Regions from separate parts of the Homo sapiens genome. Here regions 2, 3 and 4 are each linked to region 1. The links are contacts of gene promoters, found by promoter capture Hi-C in human tissues and cell types (Jung and others, 2019). All regions are on one chromosome and are shown on one strand. Each heading gives the region's core, a stretch centred on a gene start or on the middle of the fragment in contact. The rest is flanking DNA. Distances are from core to core; before and after follow the strand shown. Region 1 holds the start of TSPAN11 (tetraspanin 11). Region 2 overlaps DDX11-AS1 (DDX11 antisense RNA 1). Region 3 has its middle 47 kb from the start of LINC00941. Region 4 has its middle 12 kb from the start of TSPAN11-AS1.

Evidence for each region. The method cuts DNA at HindIII sites, captures the fragments that hold promoters and counts their contacts. A contact is called where the count stands out against the background at its distance.
Region 2: a contact is called between a fragment that was not itself captured here and the fragment with the promoter of TSPAN11 in region 1, in 5 of the 25 tissues and cell types used here (H1 embryonic stem cells, IMR-90 fibroblasts, liver and 2 more).
Region 3: a fragment that was not itself captured here is called in contact with the fragment with the promoter of TSPAN11 in region 1 in 3 of the 25 tissues and cell types used here (H1 embryonic stem cells, mesenchymal stem cells and thymus).
Region 4: a fragment that was not itself captured here is called in contact with the fragment with the promoter of TSPAN11 in region 1 in 3 of the 25 tissues and cell types used here (liver, mesenchymal stem cells and thymus).

What each region holds. Positions count from the first base shown.
Region 1 is chr12:30,925,034-30,928,770 of GRCh38, reverse strand. TSPAN11 (tetraspanin 11) reads right to left here and starts at 2,023. Exons shown (of 8, transcript NM_001370302.1): 1 at 1,975-2,023. LOC124902911 (a long non-coding RNA gene) reads left to right here and starts at 2,082. Exons shown (of 2, transcript XR_007063264.1): 1 at 2,082-3,737. The HindIII fragment of the contact is 5,500 bases long and covers 1-3,737 here.
Region 2 is chr12:31,034,073-31,037,738 of GRCh38, reverse strand. All of the region lies in intron 2 of DDX11-AS1 (DDX11 antisense RNA 1), which reads left to right. Among named protein-coding and RNA genes, the nearest start is that of TSPAN11-AS1, 30 kb to the right of the region's middle. The HindIII fragment of the contact is 6,117 bases long and covers 1-3,666 here.
Region 3 is chr12:30,840,881-30,844,806 of GRCh38, reverse strand. No RefSeq gene overlaps it. Among named protein-coding and RNA genes, the nearest start is that of LINC00941, 47 kb to the right of the region's middle. The HindIII fragment of the contact is 4,014 bases long and covers 1-3,833 here.
Region 4 is chr12:31,016,485-31,020,294 of GRCh38, reverse strand. It overlaps a transcript of TSPAN11 not described here. Among named protein-coding and RNA genes, the nearest start is that of TSPAN11-AS1, 12 kb to the right of the region's middle. The HindIII fragment of the contact is 3,757 bases long and covers 1-3,167 here.

The DNA of each region.
Region 1 (3,737 bases), core at 774-3,273:
CTCTGAGGAAGCAAAACACAGTTGAAAACAGAATGATAATCTGGAAAGATGCCCTGATTTGGACCAAAGAAGAAGCAGACCCAGAGAGGTGATGTGACCTTCCCCAGGCAGGGAGCTGAGCCGGGACCTGACCTGGGTTGCCGGCATCTCCCATCCAAGGATCTTTCCTTTTACAAACACTACTAAACAGCTATCACATACAAAGAAGTCTCAGTGACAGGTGACATCCGAGGGTGGACAAACCACCCAACTACATCCTGGAATTCGGTGCCGTCTGTGCATGACTTTTGATGCCTCCCTCCTTCTTCAGCCCAGTCCAGCGTTGGCCCTGGGTCTGAAGGCACTGTAACCCAAGAGATAGAACTTGGTGGTGGACACCCCAGGCCTGTGACCTTGGCTGGGAAAGCTTCTTCATCTCCTATCTCCCTGGCTACAAACTGTGAAGGGTGCTCCTTACTGCTTCATTTGGCGGCATAAAAAGAAAAGCAAGTTGGTGGTTATAAATGTCCTGGGCTCATCTGAAGAAAGGCTCTCTGGAAAGTCAAGGTGCTCTAGGCAGACTTAAAGACATCAACGCCAGTTTTCCTCTTGTTCTGCAGCACTCACACAAGAACTATGGGGAATCACACAGGCCTGTACATATTTTACACACGAGTCCAAAGGTGGGTATAAAATTCCTGCTATGCTGAATATAGTGGGAAACAGCACACAAATGCCTCCCTCTGCTACCCACAAACCAAACAGCTCTGGGCCACCTAAGCCCTCGCCAGACCACCAACTTGGCCCCTGTAGGCCAGTAGTGCCCCTTACCCTAGGAGTCTTAACTATCATCAAAGCATTTCCAGGCATTAATTGGAGCCTCCAGTCCCTTGGGAGACAGATGGGGCCAGTGGTTATTAGTCCCATTTTGCACAAAAAGCAACTGAGCCCCAGATGACCTATCTGTCCAGGGAACAATGCTACTGACACAGTGACAACCATTAAGTTCTGATTCAAACCTGTCTCCAGCCTCTAACTGCTGCTTTCCACTGCAATCCAGCTGCCCACAAATTGAACACAGACTATCCACTTTGGCCTAATACCACCCTCATTCTCTTCTTCACGCTCCCCCACACACACCCTATGCCCCAGAGTGCACTTATGAGTTTTTCCAGAAGCTGCCTCTTCTCCTCACCCCCCACCCCCACGCTCACCTCACAATACTTGCCACGAACTGGAGACCTCTGGAACACTTATTCCTCCTGCACACAGCAGCTTAGACTCAAGTTAAGATGCTGTCCCGCCAAGCCCAACTGGGCTGCCTCCCTTTCATACTTTCCACCAATTCACACATGTGCACACTGCACATATGGCTGGTGAAAAGGATACACCCCAGAACCTTCCATGCCTTCTTTCCACACGGAGCCGGCCAACTGCACATGCAGGGATGGGCACGAAAACACAGGTGACAGGGCCTACACAGCCATGTTGTCACAAATACACAGACGTGCCCAGAACATGAGGACATCCCTGCACAGGCAGACAGGCCCTCTGAAAGCAATGTGCACCAGATACAGCATTTTGGTGTAGCCATGAGAGGCAGCTACTCGAATTCAGGGTGGACAAAGAATGACATTTTCAAGAGGAACAGACATGCCCCGGGCACGCTGGACGGCACGAGGCCCTCAGAGGCCCAGAGCTCTCTCCCAAGGCACAAGTGCAGAAAGGCAGACTCATGCGCATAGTTATGGACACCGTGTTGCGTGTCCCATGCAGACACCAATACCTGCTCACATGCCCCGCGAGTGTCCCAGGCATTCCTGCCTCCTCCACTCCTCATCCCCAGCCGGCTTCCCTCTGCCCGCCCGGGGGAAGCTCGGGACAGTCTAGCTCGGGACTGCCGGCGGGGCGGGCAGCGGAGGTGGAGGCGCCTCTCCTGGACCCCCAGCCCCCTCCCGCGGCGCCCCCACTCCTCGGGCGCGCTTCTGCACTTACCCTGCCAGGGGCTCCGGAAGCGGCGAAGGGAGCTGCGCCTAGAGAGACTGAGAGCGGCGGCTCCCGGGGCCGCCCAGCCGCCCACCGCCCGCAGCCAGCGCTCCTCCCTCCCAGCCCGGGAAGGTCAGCGTGTGGGCAGCCCGGCCCGCGCCCCTGCGCCCACTGAGGCTTCCTGCCGGCCCTCTAGTCCCCGCCTGCCCAGCGCTCGGCCGCGACGCCCCGGCGCCGGCTCTCCCAGCCCAGCCGGCAGGACGCGCCCGGGAGCCCCGCACGCGAGCTGCCGGCTCTTTGTTTGGGGGTTTGCCTCTCTGCGATTCAGAGCACGCGGAGGGAATTAAGTCAGAGTCCGAGGCAGCTGTGCGGTTGCCGGGGGGATCCCTAAGGGGGGCGGGGCAAAAGGACGGACTAGTAGGGCGGTGGAGCGGCTTTCAAACTCCCCGCGCTCCGCAGCTCCCCGCTTAGGTCTCCCTGCCCTTTACGTTTGTCGGCCCCTGGGAGAGGTTGGCCTTTGGGGGTTTCCAGGGACCCTAGGGACAAGCCTGTCTGATAAGAGAGAGGTTCTCCATCCCCCTTCCTCACCAGCCCCCATCACTGCCGTGTCCCTCTTAGAGTCCTGTGGAGCATCAGCTTTACATTTCCTGGGCCCCGGGGAGAATCAAGGTCTCTCTAATCTGAAGCAAAAAGGAATAACAGAGAGTAGAGCCCATCTGTTCCTGCTGAGTCCCTGTGAAGGTGCAAAGCTGGCCCTAACGGGACTGGCCCTAACAGTGGGGCATGGATTATCTATTTCCCAAAGTAACAAGGGCCTTGTGCTTATCCAACCGTGTTCTTTTGAAACTTAGCTGCAGTGAGGAAGATTACCCATTTACCAGGTTGCTAGATCAGGGAAGCCACTGGAGGCAGGGGACGCTGACAAAGCCACTGTACCGGGAGCACCAACGTTCTAAATACCCCAGCTGGCTGCTGAGAAGGGCTTCGCGGGGGGCCACACAGGAAGGAGATGATTCCAATAGTCCCGTGAGATGAGGACCTTAACTGGGGGATGAATGCGGAAGCTGCAGCAAAGGAGAGTCTACAGACTGTGTGGTGTAGGAGGAGCACACTGGGGCTGTAACATTGTGGAAGTCTGGAGGAGAACCTGGAGTGATGTGACTGAGTTTAGTGTGGAGCAAGTTGGATTGGAGAAGCAGGCCACCTTCTTCCAGGGGCAGATATCCAGCAAATGCAATTGGAAGGGTGATTCTGGAGTTCATAGGAGAGACTGAGGCAAGGGATGTCAATTTTGGAATCATCTGGAAAGAAGTTGGGCCGACACAAGAGGTGGAGGGAGAGGGTAGAAAAGGTACAGAGAACAGGGCTGAAGACAGAATCTAGGTCTACCGAGAAGGAGCCCATGAAAGGAACGGAAACTATCAGGAGAAACCATAAGGGAAGGTCAGGACTGTGCGGGGTGTCAGGACTCAGGAGAAGAGGGAGGTTCAATGGGGGCCGGGGCCCGGGCTGCAGGGACACCACGGAGGAGGGCGCCCAAGAAAATAGGTTTAGATTTAGAAAGAAGGAGATCTCTGGGCTAGTTCAAGATAACTATTTGAGTGGTGGCTTATATAAACCAGGTTGCCACTCCTTGGGGCGGGGCATCTGTATCTCGGATCCAATTGGTTGATGGGGAGATACAAAGGTTCACCTCTTTGCTTCCATTACGGAGGGCCCTGAAGGGCCACCCCAGCTCCATAGCTTCCCAAGGGATCCGCCGAGGCCTCTGT
Region 2 (3,666 bases), core at 1,122-3,621, 110 kb before region 1:
GAGAATTGCTTGAACACTTTGGAAACAATGTCACAAGCTGCGGATATAGTCCACGGTAGAACTGAAACGATGACCTTATTTCCTAGCACTGTGCCTTCATCAACGGGCTTCTTAGCTCTTGGTCTCTAGAGAGAACCCCTCACATACACACATCATGTTGTCTATGCATCAGCTAAGCACAGTACAGCTGGGGCCCCTTGCACACAGAGACCAAGATGTGGAAGGACGGAAGCCAGGCCAGGCAGGGCCAGGGAAGCCACTGCCTCTCATCTCCACTTTGCGCTTCCTGGCAGGAGCAGGAGAAGGTGAGGATCTCAGCCACCTCTGCTGTGGGCCACATGCTGCAGCAACTAAAAACATGTAAGCCTGGAGGCATCACCCCCCAAAATTTTTTCACACTTCTGATATCATTGGTGCTCAGCATTCAGGAAAATAACATGGAAGTGCTCCAGGTACACTGGCTGTCACTTGTCTGGCCACTGCCAGGCCTGATATGTGTCCCCTTTCCTTGAGAGCAGGGCCCCTTCCCTGTGGCCATTTCCATGAGCCCAGCCTTGCCTGTAGGCTCTACATTCACCTCTTTGACATTGTCCTCTGGGTGGCTCTGAACATATCTGCCCTCTCTTTATGACGGAAGGGCTTCCACTCAGCCCCTTGGCTGGAGAGTCACAGGAGTGAGGTTGAGGCCTCCCTTCTCTCCATCCCATAGGCCTGGGGAAAGGCTCTGGCGGTGTGGGCTGACATGATTGGCTGGTCCTCACTCATCCAGCCATTGCTGCGTGCCACGCTCAGCGACCACATGCATGTAGGTCCTGGAGGAAATCTGCAAGTACCTGGTGAGTGAGGGTCTCAGGAGAGGCTGCACACAGTCCTCATGCTGAGCCCTCAGTAGCGGGTTCCGTGGGCACAGAGGGGTGGGCTGCCAGAGAGAGGTTCCTGTGCTCCTTGTTTCTCACTCCTTCACATGAGCCCACTCTGAGAACCCACAGCTGGGGTGCCAGTCCCTGGTTCTCTGTATTTGACTCTCTGGGCATCCAGATCACTGCCTCAAAGGCTGGGGAGGTCATGCCAGGTCCCTGGATGGCAACTGGCCAGAGGTCTTCTGGTTGGAGTGGCAGGGAGAGAAGAGGGCAGGAGCATCAGGCCTCTGGTCAGTTGGCATGGGGTGAAGGGTCTGTGGCTCCTGCAAATTCAAGAACAAGCCAGGGCTCAGGAATCCCTGTTGAAAAGCAAACATTTAAGGGCTAAGAAAGTAGGTTAAGAGCTCAGATGAGTCATTCTAAGGATTTATAGCATAAATCCTTCACATAGGGGGAGCATTTTACAAAGCACTTTTCCATTTATTACCCACGGGCACTTGTCATGGTGTGTGGGAGGTTGGGCGGGATTGCCTTCCACTCTACTCTCAAGAAAGTGAAGCCAGTGGGTGCCAGGTCCAACTTTCAAACCCAAGGCTCCCAGCCCCATGGAGTTGTTTTCTCTCACATCCTGTGGGTTCCCAGAAGCAGTAAACTTCCTGCTGCAGAGGGGTGGGGGTCTGAGTCTGCAGGGTCCAGCAGTCAGAGCTGCCTGAAGATGCACTGCTGCTGCTGGGGACAGTGGGGAGGCCGTGGCTGCCAGGAGGCCTTCTGCAGGACTCCCAGTGGCTCCTCTCCTGGTCAGCACCGCCCATGGCTGTAGAAGGAGAGGTTGCCAGGAAGAGGGTCTCTGCAGAGGGAGTCTAGAAAGTGCAAACATTCCTCCCACATAAGAAACTTTTCATCTTCCTTGAAGCAGAGGGCAAGGTCGCTGGGAGCTGGGGCTGGCGAGGGGCGAGTCAGTAGGAAAGAAAGCTTCAGGAGACCGGCGAGGGTCTGTCATAGCCATTGGGGGAGTAGGACATAAAGCTGGCCAGAGACCACAGGACTTACGGGCAGCACCAAGGACGAAGCAGAGGCCAGGAGCTCATACCCGTCTAGATCCATGAGGCCATGTGGTCTCAGCAGCGCTCAGCCGCCCCACACAGGACAGAGAAGGTGGCAGCTGGACTGAGTCAAGGGGAGTCCTCCTGTGATTGTCCCCAGGGGCAGACGGTGAGGTCAAGGGGATGAGGGATTGCTGAAGTAACTGATGGGATGGGCCATGGAGAAGCAAGTGAAGAGGCTGAGGGGACTCAGGGAGGGTCCTAGGAGGAAATAGAAAGCCTAAGTCCTTGATGTGGCACAGGGCCACTGGGTAACAAGGCGGAGAACAGCAAGCACAAGAAATTGTCAAGGAGGAGACACCAGCCTGCGGCTTCAAGAGGTGGTGTATTACTCATTGCTAAGGAGGAAGAGGGTAATTGGACTGGGATGCTGGAGATGGAGCCCTGGGCTCTAGCCAGCATAGGGCTGCCAGACGTAGCCACCAGCTCTGAATTCTCAACTCCGATTCTGGGATAATATCCTGACTTTGCTGAGCACAGATCTTTTTTTTTATTATCATTTTTCAATAGAGACAAGATCTCCCTCTGTCACCCAGGCTGGAATACAGTAGAGGGATCATAGTTCACTGTAACCTCAAACTCCCAGGCTCCAGCAATCCTCCTGCCTCAGTCTCCTGAGTAGCTAGGGCTGCACATGCATGCCACCATGCCCAGCTAACTTTTTAAGTTTTTAGTAGAAATGGAGTCTCTCTATGTTGCCCAGGCTGGTCTCAAACTCCTGGCCTCCAGCGATCTGCCTGCCTCAGCTTCCCAAAGTTCTGAGATTGCAGGCTTGAGTCACTGTGCCAGAACTATGCATACCTTTGACTTAATAGCAACCTTGACCTGGAGCTCATCCTTTAAAAATCAAATTTTAAAAAAATATGATTTCAAAACCACACATAGTAAAGAATTTGGAGAATACAGAACACCAACACAGAAAAGATTAATACAGAAAATCAATACAGAAGAGAAGTTAGAAATCTCCTGCAAACCTACCACTGGGATTTAGACATGATTAATTTGGGGTTAGCTCTTTCCAGTTTGCCTTTTTTTTTCTTTTTCTTTTCTTTATTTTTTTAATTTTTTTTTATTTTTTGCCTATTCAGGAGCATTTTAGTAATGTATCCTCCAACTTACTGGGGCTTGGAGCTCTGTGACTCAGTTTTCCTGGTTAGAAGATATGATGGCCACATGCCAACAAATTTCTGGAACAGCTTTCATGTGGTTTCCTCATACCTGCAGCCAGGAGGGCTGCATATCTCTCCATCCTAGGCAGTGAGGATCAGAGAGCCGGGTGATGGGTGCAGAGCCATGCAGCAGGCCCATGGGCTCCAGGGTTCCTCACCTTAACCCAAGTGGGTGCCAGAGAAAAATCTCACCTCGAGAGGAGGCACAGACACCAGGCTGCCAGGGCCGTGCACCACAGGTCAGATCCATCCAGAATCTCCCACGAGCTGTTCTCATGCCTCTGTGACACAAAGTCAGAAAAGCAGTCAGTCCCAGAAGAGAGTTTACAACTTGCTTTTTGAGCCAATCAGACCTTTGAACAAAATGTCCTCTTTTCCACAGTGTATCTGTCCTATTCACCTTCAGTTTGGAGAGCTGTTCTGACCTTTCTTAACGAAATGAGTGTCTCCCCTTCTTCGGCGAATAATAAATTCAGTGTCTGCTTTAGACAGCTTTGGTGACCTTTGTGTTCTTCTGTGGCATGAACCTCGCTT
Region 3 (3,926 bases), core at 577-3,076, 84 kb after region 1:
ATCCGTCCGCCACGGCCTCCCAAAGTGCTGGGATTACAGGTGTGAGCCACCGTACCTGGCCAGAATTTCTATTTCCACTAGGTGGCGCTATTGTCTTAGGAATACCATGTCTTACCAGCGAATTAGTAGCAAGTAACCTCACCACGTGGTGGGGAGGTGGTGGTGTGGTGGGGGAGGTGGCATTGGGGGGATGGCGTGGAGGGGTGGGAATCTCTGTTCCTAGAAGATTGCAAGGACATTTTCCTGAGCTATATCCCCAGTGCTACAGCATTTCCTGATCTTGCTTAACAGGATTACTCCCTTAGGCTGTAAAAATTCCTGCACATTCTACACACACAGAGAGAGTAAGAGACCACGGATAGAAAGAGAAAGAAAGTTTGGCGACAGAATAGCAGGAAGAGAGCCTTGAGATTAAAGGACAGATTTGAGTTTGAGATTTGCTCCACTCTGTACTCACCAATCCGTTGAATGAATTCCCGGCCAATGCACCAAAATGATATGGCTCCGATGACTGGAGGAACACCAGAGTCCTTGGTCTCATGATGACCGACATGGACACAAGTCTGGAGTGGTTTTAAGGAGCAGAGAATTTAATAGGCAAGAAAGAGGAAAGGAAGAAGAAAACAGCTCCCCCATACAGAGACAGAGGGAGGGGGATCCAAGCAAAGAGAAACCCTGTGTGTGGCAGAAAAGTGGTTGGTTATACGGGAGGCTGGAGGAGGCGGTGTCTGATTTGTATAGGGCCCAAGGGATTGGTTTGAACAGGTGTGTCATTCACGTAGCTGGCAAAAAACCTGGCCATCCCAACTTAGCCCTTTAGTATGCACATGCGGGCCTGCCATGATGTCCCAAACATGTGGAGTTATCTGGAGGTGCCCATGACACTTGGCATACCTGGTGACAAGAAGAAGAAGGTGGGAATTGCCATATTGGGTGGACCCAGTTTCTAATGACGTGCATTTGCATATCAAAGCTTGCCCGCCTGGCCCTCTTTAAGTACCTTTCTGTTAGAAAAGAAATAGTTTGGAGGTTGCTTTCATTAAAAGAAAAACCCTGACTGAGAACTCCTTTTACCTTCTCTATCTGCCTGAAAATTATTTCTTAATAACTCCTGTATTAGCCCCACCATCCACCCAGAGTCACTCAGGCCAAAACCCTAGAGGTCCACCCTCGATTCCCTTCTCCCGTTTAACTCACATCCAATCCACCATAAAGTCTTGTCGAGATGACCTCTAAAGCATTTCCCAAATGGATGCAGCTTCCTCCCTCTCCACTATGTCCAGCCTGGTGAAAGCTACCATCACATCCTGCCTGGAGTACTACAGCAGCCTCTTGCTTGGCCTTCATATTTGTATTCTCTTCCCCTTTCGGGTGTTCTCCATAGACCATCTGGAGGTTGTCTTTTTAATCTAAGTTGATCACATCACCCTCCTGGTTAAAAGCTTCCAGGGGCTGTCCATCTGATTTGCAAAGAAATCCAGACCCCTCTCCCTAGAAGCTGCATAGGGCCTGGGTCCTGCGGACCTTGCCAGTGCCTGCCCTTGCCTCCCTCACCCCTCCTGGCAGTAGGCTTCAGCCATGGTTGTCTTTGTGTCTGTCCCCTAAGTTTGTTCCTGCCTTAGAGACTTGTATAAGCTTCCTCTTCTGCAATGCATGCCCCTGAAAGACAGTTAATTTCTTTTAATTGCCTGAGTTTAGCCTAAACATCATCTCTTTAGGCCCAAACTAGAGGTCCTCCCATCATTCACCTATCACAACTCCTGATTATATTTTCAATACATTATGTACAAGGTGATCTAAAAGTTTTCATGCATTTCTGTACTTGTATAGGAATGGCCAGTGATGACAGGTTCATCTTGACCAGTGATGAGAGTTTCCAGTTCTTCTTAGTCAGGAACCCAGATAAGGATTTGGGTTAATTTCCTTTCTTATCAGATGTGCCATGGAGCTTTTTCCCAGTCATTTTGGATCAAGCGAAGTCCTATTCCCAGATGCTTAGTAAACATTACTGTCCTGCATGCAATACCATCCTGGCCCTCCTGCCTCTAAACCAGGCATTATCTCCATCTGACTCTGCCATCTTGCTTTTTGTACTGTTTTGGCCTGTAGACCTCTAAGGGGATGGGCACCAAGGCAAAGGTCACTTGGCTTAGGTAATATCCTTGGGACCACTCTCCTTAGTAGCCCTGGAACTAGCCTTGCTAGGGTAAAATCCTAGGAGGGGCAAGTAGTTGTCCTCCAAAGCCACCCACTTTTAGTCTTTTTGCAAAACCTTCTTTTCTAGTCATATTCTCGATTTCTTCTAGACATGTTTTGTGATCAGTAAGTGTTGAGTGAAGGTATTGGTCAAAGGGGAAAATTTAGAGGTCAAGTCTATATCAGAGGGAAAGGGAAAGGCACCAAGAATATGCCAGTTAACACAATTTCTATTTAAGGGGCTAGAATGATACATTTAGGAGAAACAGCACAGGCTTCTAAACATGGTAGGACAAGAGAGTCAAACAAGAAGAAAACCCAGGCTGTTCAGTGGTGGGTTTGTCTTTGTCCAATATTAAGATTGAGAGCTTCTGACCAAGCTGAGGAAAAGCTAGATTGAGCTGCCTGGCATGTTCTCCCCTGGATAGCCTGGCAGCAGACACCCCCTGTGCTATGGCATTGCAAGGAAAAGACAGTGGGTAATTAAAGCCCGTGGTCATCTGGAGCTCAGCCACCTTGTGGTTCCCTTGGTTCCCTTTGGGGAAGGTTGGGGAACATGGGGAAGGGAGGGCTTTGTACCACAGAAAGGAATGGCTGGTAGGAATGGGAGATTTTGAGTGAAGCATAAAAAGTTATTTGGAGCCATGGGTTGGAGAGAGCCTCTAAGCATGGGGACCTCCTGCTCCTGCTTTTAATCAGACCAAGAGGGTAAGTAATAGATCCGGAGTTATATCCACATTGTCTCATGTGGCCTCCTCATTGTCATTGCTGCTTAAACAAAATGGGCATAGGGAGAGGGAAATGTTCATCCTCCTTGTGCCTCGGGAGGGTGCCGGGGTAGAGTGATCTTGGCAGCCTGTGGCTTCGTCACTGCCTCCCATGGGAGGACTGGGCCTGCCCAGAGCACAGAATAGTAATGGGTTGATACTATGCCTTTTTTATTTTTCGTCTCCAAACACAGGTGAATCACTTTGATTTAAGTTTCTTATAAAATGCTGTATCAGCTACTACTAGTTAAATGAGTTACTATTTGTCAAGAGCTTAGAACAGCACCTGGCACTGTCACATATTAATTTAGTAGCAATTGTCACCATGATTGCAGCTGTGGTGTTTCAGGTACTAACTTCTGGCAGCCTGTATAGATAATCAGCTCTCAGTGTTACTCCGGGGAATCAGGGCAATGCTTATCAGCTCAATTTGCCTGATGGGCTTAAAAGACATGAAAGGGAAAAGGTTGAGGGAACCGCTCCACATGCAGTTATTTGTTCTGACCAAATATCCGACATTGGTGCCTTCTGAAAATGAAATATGCTCCAATGGCCTCATGTACACATGCATGTGTTGCATAATGTGTGTGAAGTGTACCTCTGTTACTGAAACAGGATCCTATTTATTGACAATGGTGAAAGAAACATGAAGACGGTATTTATTGGGTCGGCTATGAGGTCATCAGACCACTTAGAGCCATCTCTGAGCCACCTAATACCTGGCCCCATTGATGGGGGGGGGGTCCCATATGATTCCACTTGGATTCAGAGACTAGGTTGATAAGCCTTCACAGTCAGGCCTCCTACTGAAATAGAATACTTGTTTTCTAGTCACAACCCTGCTAACCGAAACAGGATGCAGTCCAAACAGGTTAAAGTTAAAAAAAACAACAAAACCAGCAGATGGTGACAAAATGATTGCTAGCTGACCTCATTGCTCACTTGCATTAGACACTCCCACCA
Region 4 (3,810 bases), core at 40-2,539, 92 kb before region 1:
AACTCTTAGGCTGAAACCCACGTGCTCAGGCAGAGTAGAAGGAAGTCCTGGGTTCCTGAAGGCATCATGGAGCCACCATGTCCGCCCTGGGCTACCGACCTCCTTTCTCCTGTTGTGTGGAGAATATGAACCCCGGTGCTTGAGCCCTGTGGTCGGGTTTCTTTTGGGCACAGCTGAAAGTAATCTTAACTAGACGAGCTCCTCTGTGAGTGCTCCCAGGCACCTGGCTGCCCTCCGCGGTGCCTATCGAAACACGCATCGCACTCGCATCATCTGGTTATGTGTCTGTTTCCCTGGCTTGTTGAAGGCACGGGGCAAGCACTCAATAACTGTGGTGACAGGGACGTTGCTGTGTCTCCTCATCCTGGACCTGAGGAAAGGAAAGGTTTCCCTGGAGCACACAGAAAATCCCAGTGGCATCCCCGCCCCATCTCCTCTATCAGTGGAGCATCAGCTCTGCGATCACTGAAGTCTTTCAGGCTCTCACTTCCTCTGATTCCACCTCATAGCCAGTAAATGTCCACACCAAGGAGGATATGAAAGTACGAAACATAGCCCTGGTCCTTCCATCGAGGAAGTCAAGGAATGCATGCAGGACGACAACTAGCACTTGCACTGCACTTCTTATGCCCCAGGTGAAATGCACATAAAATTGACCATTTTAAAGTGAACAATCAGTGGCATTTAGTACATTCACAATGTTGTCCCACCACTCCCTCTCTGTAGTTCCAAAACATTTTCATCATCCCAAAATGAAAACTTGTACCCATGAAGTAGCCACTTCCCATTCTCCCCTCCACTCGGCCCCTGGAAAACACCAATCTGCTTTCTGTTTCCATAGATTTACCTAGTCTGGATATTTCATATAAATTGAATTACATAATATGTGACCTGTGTCTGGCTTCTTTCACTTCACATAATGCTTTTGAGGTTTAACCACATGGTGCCATGCATCAGTTCTGCATTCCTTTTCCTGGCTTAGTAATATTCCATTGTTTGTACATACCACAGTTTGTTTATCCATTCATCCATCTATGGACACAGGCATCATTTTAAGCACTTGAAATATATTAACTCACTGAATCCTCACCACAGAGACAGATGCAGTTATTGTCCCTAAATTATTATAGAGTAGAAACTGAGGCACAAATAACGTGCCTAGGATCACACAGCTATTAAGCAGAATAAGGACTCCAGTCCAGGCAGTCTAGTACCAAAGGCCTTCCTTGTAATCGCTGTGCTTTACCACCTCTCAGAGAACAACCACAGGGACTAAGCAGTCTAGTGAAGCTTCAAATGCTGTACGTTTCAGAGAATGGGGAGGTCCCTGGCTGTCACAGAAGCTTCCTGGAGAAGTAGGATCATGTAAGTTCTAACTCAGGGCAGGTCAGGGTGATGTGAGTGACCAACTCACTCGGAACACAGACATTCATGGGTGTTCAGTAAAACCGGTTCTAGAACCAGTGATGACTTCAGCCCAAGGATCCCACAAGGGAAAGTGCTTGTCTTTGCCTGCACAGCACAGAGCATTCTGGGCAGAGTTCTGGACCCAAGCTTCTTTCAAATACCTTATAAACAGCAACAGAAGCTGGCTGTATCTTCTGTCTGGCTGCATCTGTCTAACAGTTTAGAGAGTGAGACATTTCCTTCCTCTTTAATCCAACTATCCTTGGAAGACTTCCCAAAAAGCAATGCACCTTGGAGAAGTTTAATGCCGTTGAGGAAAGTGGTTTCCAGGAGAGAGGGGAGTCTGTTCCATGAACTGTGATACAAGGGAACATCTTAAACTCTTAAACTAAGTCCTCAGTCTCCTAGGAAATCATTACGATTTTCTTCCTATAGATCAGGGCTCAGGACACCCTACTGCATGCTCTTCACCCCTCCACCAGAGTTCCTAAAGTCCATGCTCACGGATCCTGGGAATCAAGGAGGTTGGAGGATGCAGGCAAGCCTCATCAAGACTGCCTGGGACCAACCCTGCAGTCCTCCTTCCCTAGGCCCACTCAGCCCAGCTGGCCAGCAAAGGCAGGCAGGGCCTCCTTGTCCACACATGAGAATGACCTGCAGCTTTTCTTTGTCTAGGCTGAGGTCAAGGATTCCCATTGCAGCTCTAGGGTGAGGGTAAAAGTTTTTGCAATTCAGTTCCTAGGAAATCTTTAAAATTAGGTCTGAGATGAGTCTGTCAGTAGTAGATTAGGTAGAGAACTTTTATACAGTTGAGGGTGAACCGTCTGGAGGGTGAACTGTCTGGTCCGGTTCTAGAACTGGGAGTAGTACCTTGGTGCCTAGCAACACATCTTTGAGAACACGCAACCAGGCTTGGTATGTGATAGAGTGTGTGTGTGTGTGTGTGTGTGTGTGTGTGAGAAAGAGAGTGTGTGAATGTGTGTGTGTATGAGTGTGTGCAAGTTGTGAGTGTGTGTGAGTATAGTGTGTGAGCATGTGTGGGTGTGTGTGAGTGTGTGTGTGGGAGCATGTGTGCGTGTCAGTGTGTGTGTGAGTGTGAGTGTGTGAGAGTGTGTGTGTGAGTGTGTGTCTTTGGATACACAGACATCCTGGAGCATATGCATATTTCCTTTCTCATTCAAATAAACCCTACAGATAACAAAGTGCTTTAACATCCGGTCTCTGCAGCCTTCCACAGGAGGCAAGGCAAGCACTATTAAGCCCGCTATAAACAGGTCAGCTGAAGCACCCCCTCAGTGACTTGCCCAGGGTCACAGGAAGAATGAGTGGCAGAGCCCCGAGCCTGTGTGCTCCCTTCTGTGCCGGGCTGCTTCTCCTGGGCATGGCTGTGCCTTGTGCATGGGACATTTCTCCTCTGATGTGCCCTGGGTGCCTTAAGCAACTTAGATATTGCTCAGGTAGGGTGAGGGGAAAATGTATTTTCAGGTTGTATTAGTCAAACCAAAATAGTGTAGACTAGATGACTTTAAAAACATACATTTATTTTTCACAGTACTGGAGGTTTGGAAGTCCAAGTTCAAGGTGTCAGTTAGATTGGTTCCTGGTGAGGGCTCTCCTCCTGGTTTGCACGCAGCCACATTCTCTTTGTGTCCTCACTTGGTGGGTAGAGAGAGACACTGTTCTCTTTTCTTACCAGATCCATCATGAGGGCCCCACCCCATGGCCTCATATAACCCTAATTACCTACCAAAGGCCCATCTCCAAATACCATTACATTGGTGGTTAGGGCTTCAACATAGGAATTTGGGGAGGACACAAACATTCCGTGTACAGCATGGGTGGAAACCCATCTCTTCCTCACCACCTGTGGGGACCACACACTGCAGCCATCAAGACAGTGGGCATGTTCTCCTTACAACTCGATCCGACTCCCCTAGAAGAGCGGACAGGGAAGGAGGGCAAAGCTGGGAGAGTTGAAGAATATTACGAAGAGAATAGGGTAGCCAGATTTAGCAAATAAAAATATAAAATGCCTAGTTAATTCTGAATTTCAGATAAGAAGAAATAATTTTTTAGCATAAGTATGCCCTTAACTAAACATGGCACAGGACATGCTTATGCTAAAGAAATTATGTATTATCTAATAATAAATTAATATTTTCTCCAATGCATATTAACTGTGCATCCTGCATTTATCTGGTAACCCTAAAAGAGAAGGCTCAGACACTCTTGAGGCAAGCCAATGGATTCCAGGAGGGACTATTGCTGGGCTTCTGGGCCCATGCTCCCTTTATAACACTTAACGGTTTTTAGCCTCTTTCCACCCTCCTTCCCTCTCTTCCTCCCTGGCTCCCTTCCTTCCTTCATTCCTTTCTTCTCTTCTCTCCTCTCCTCTCCTTTCCT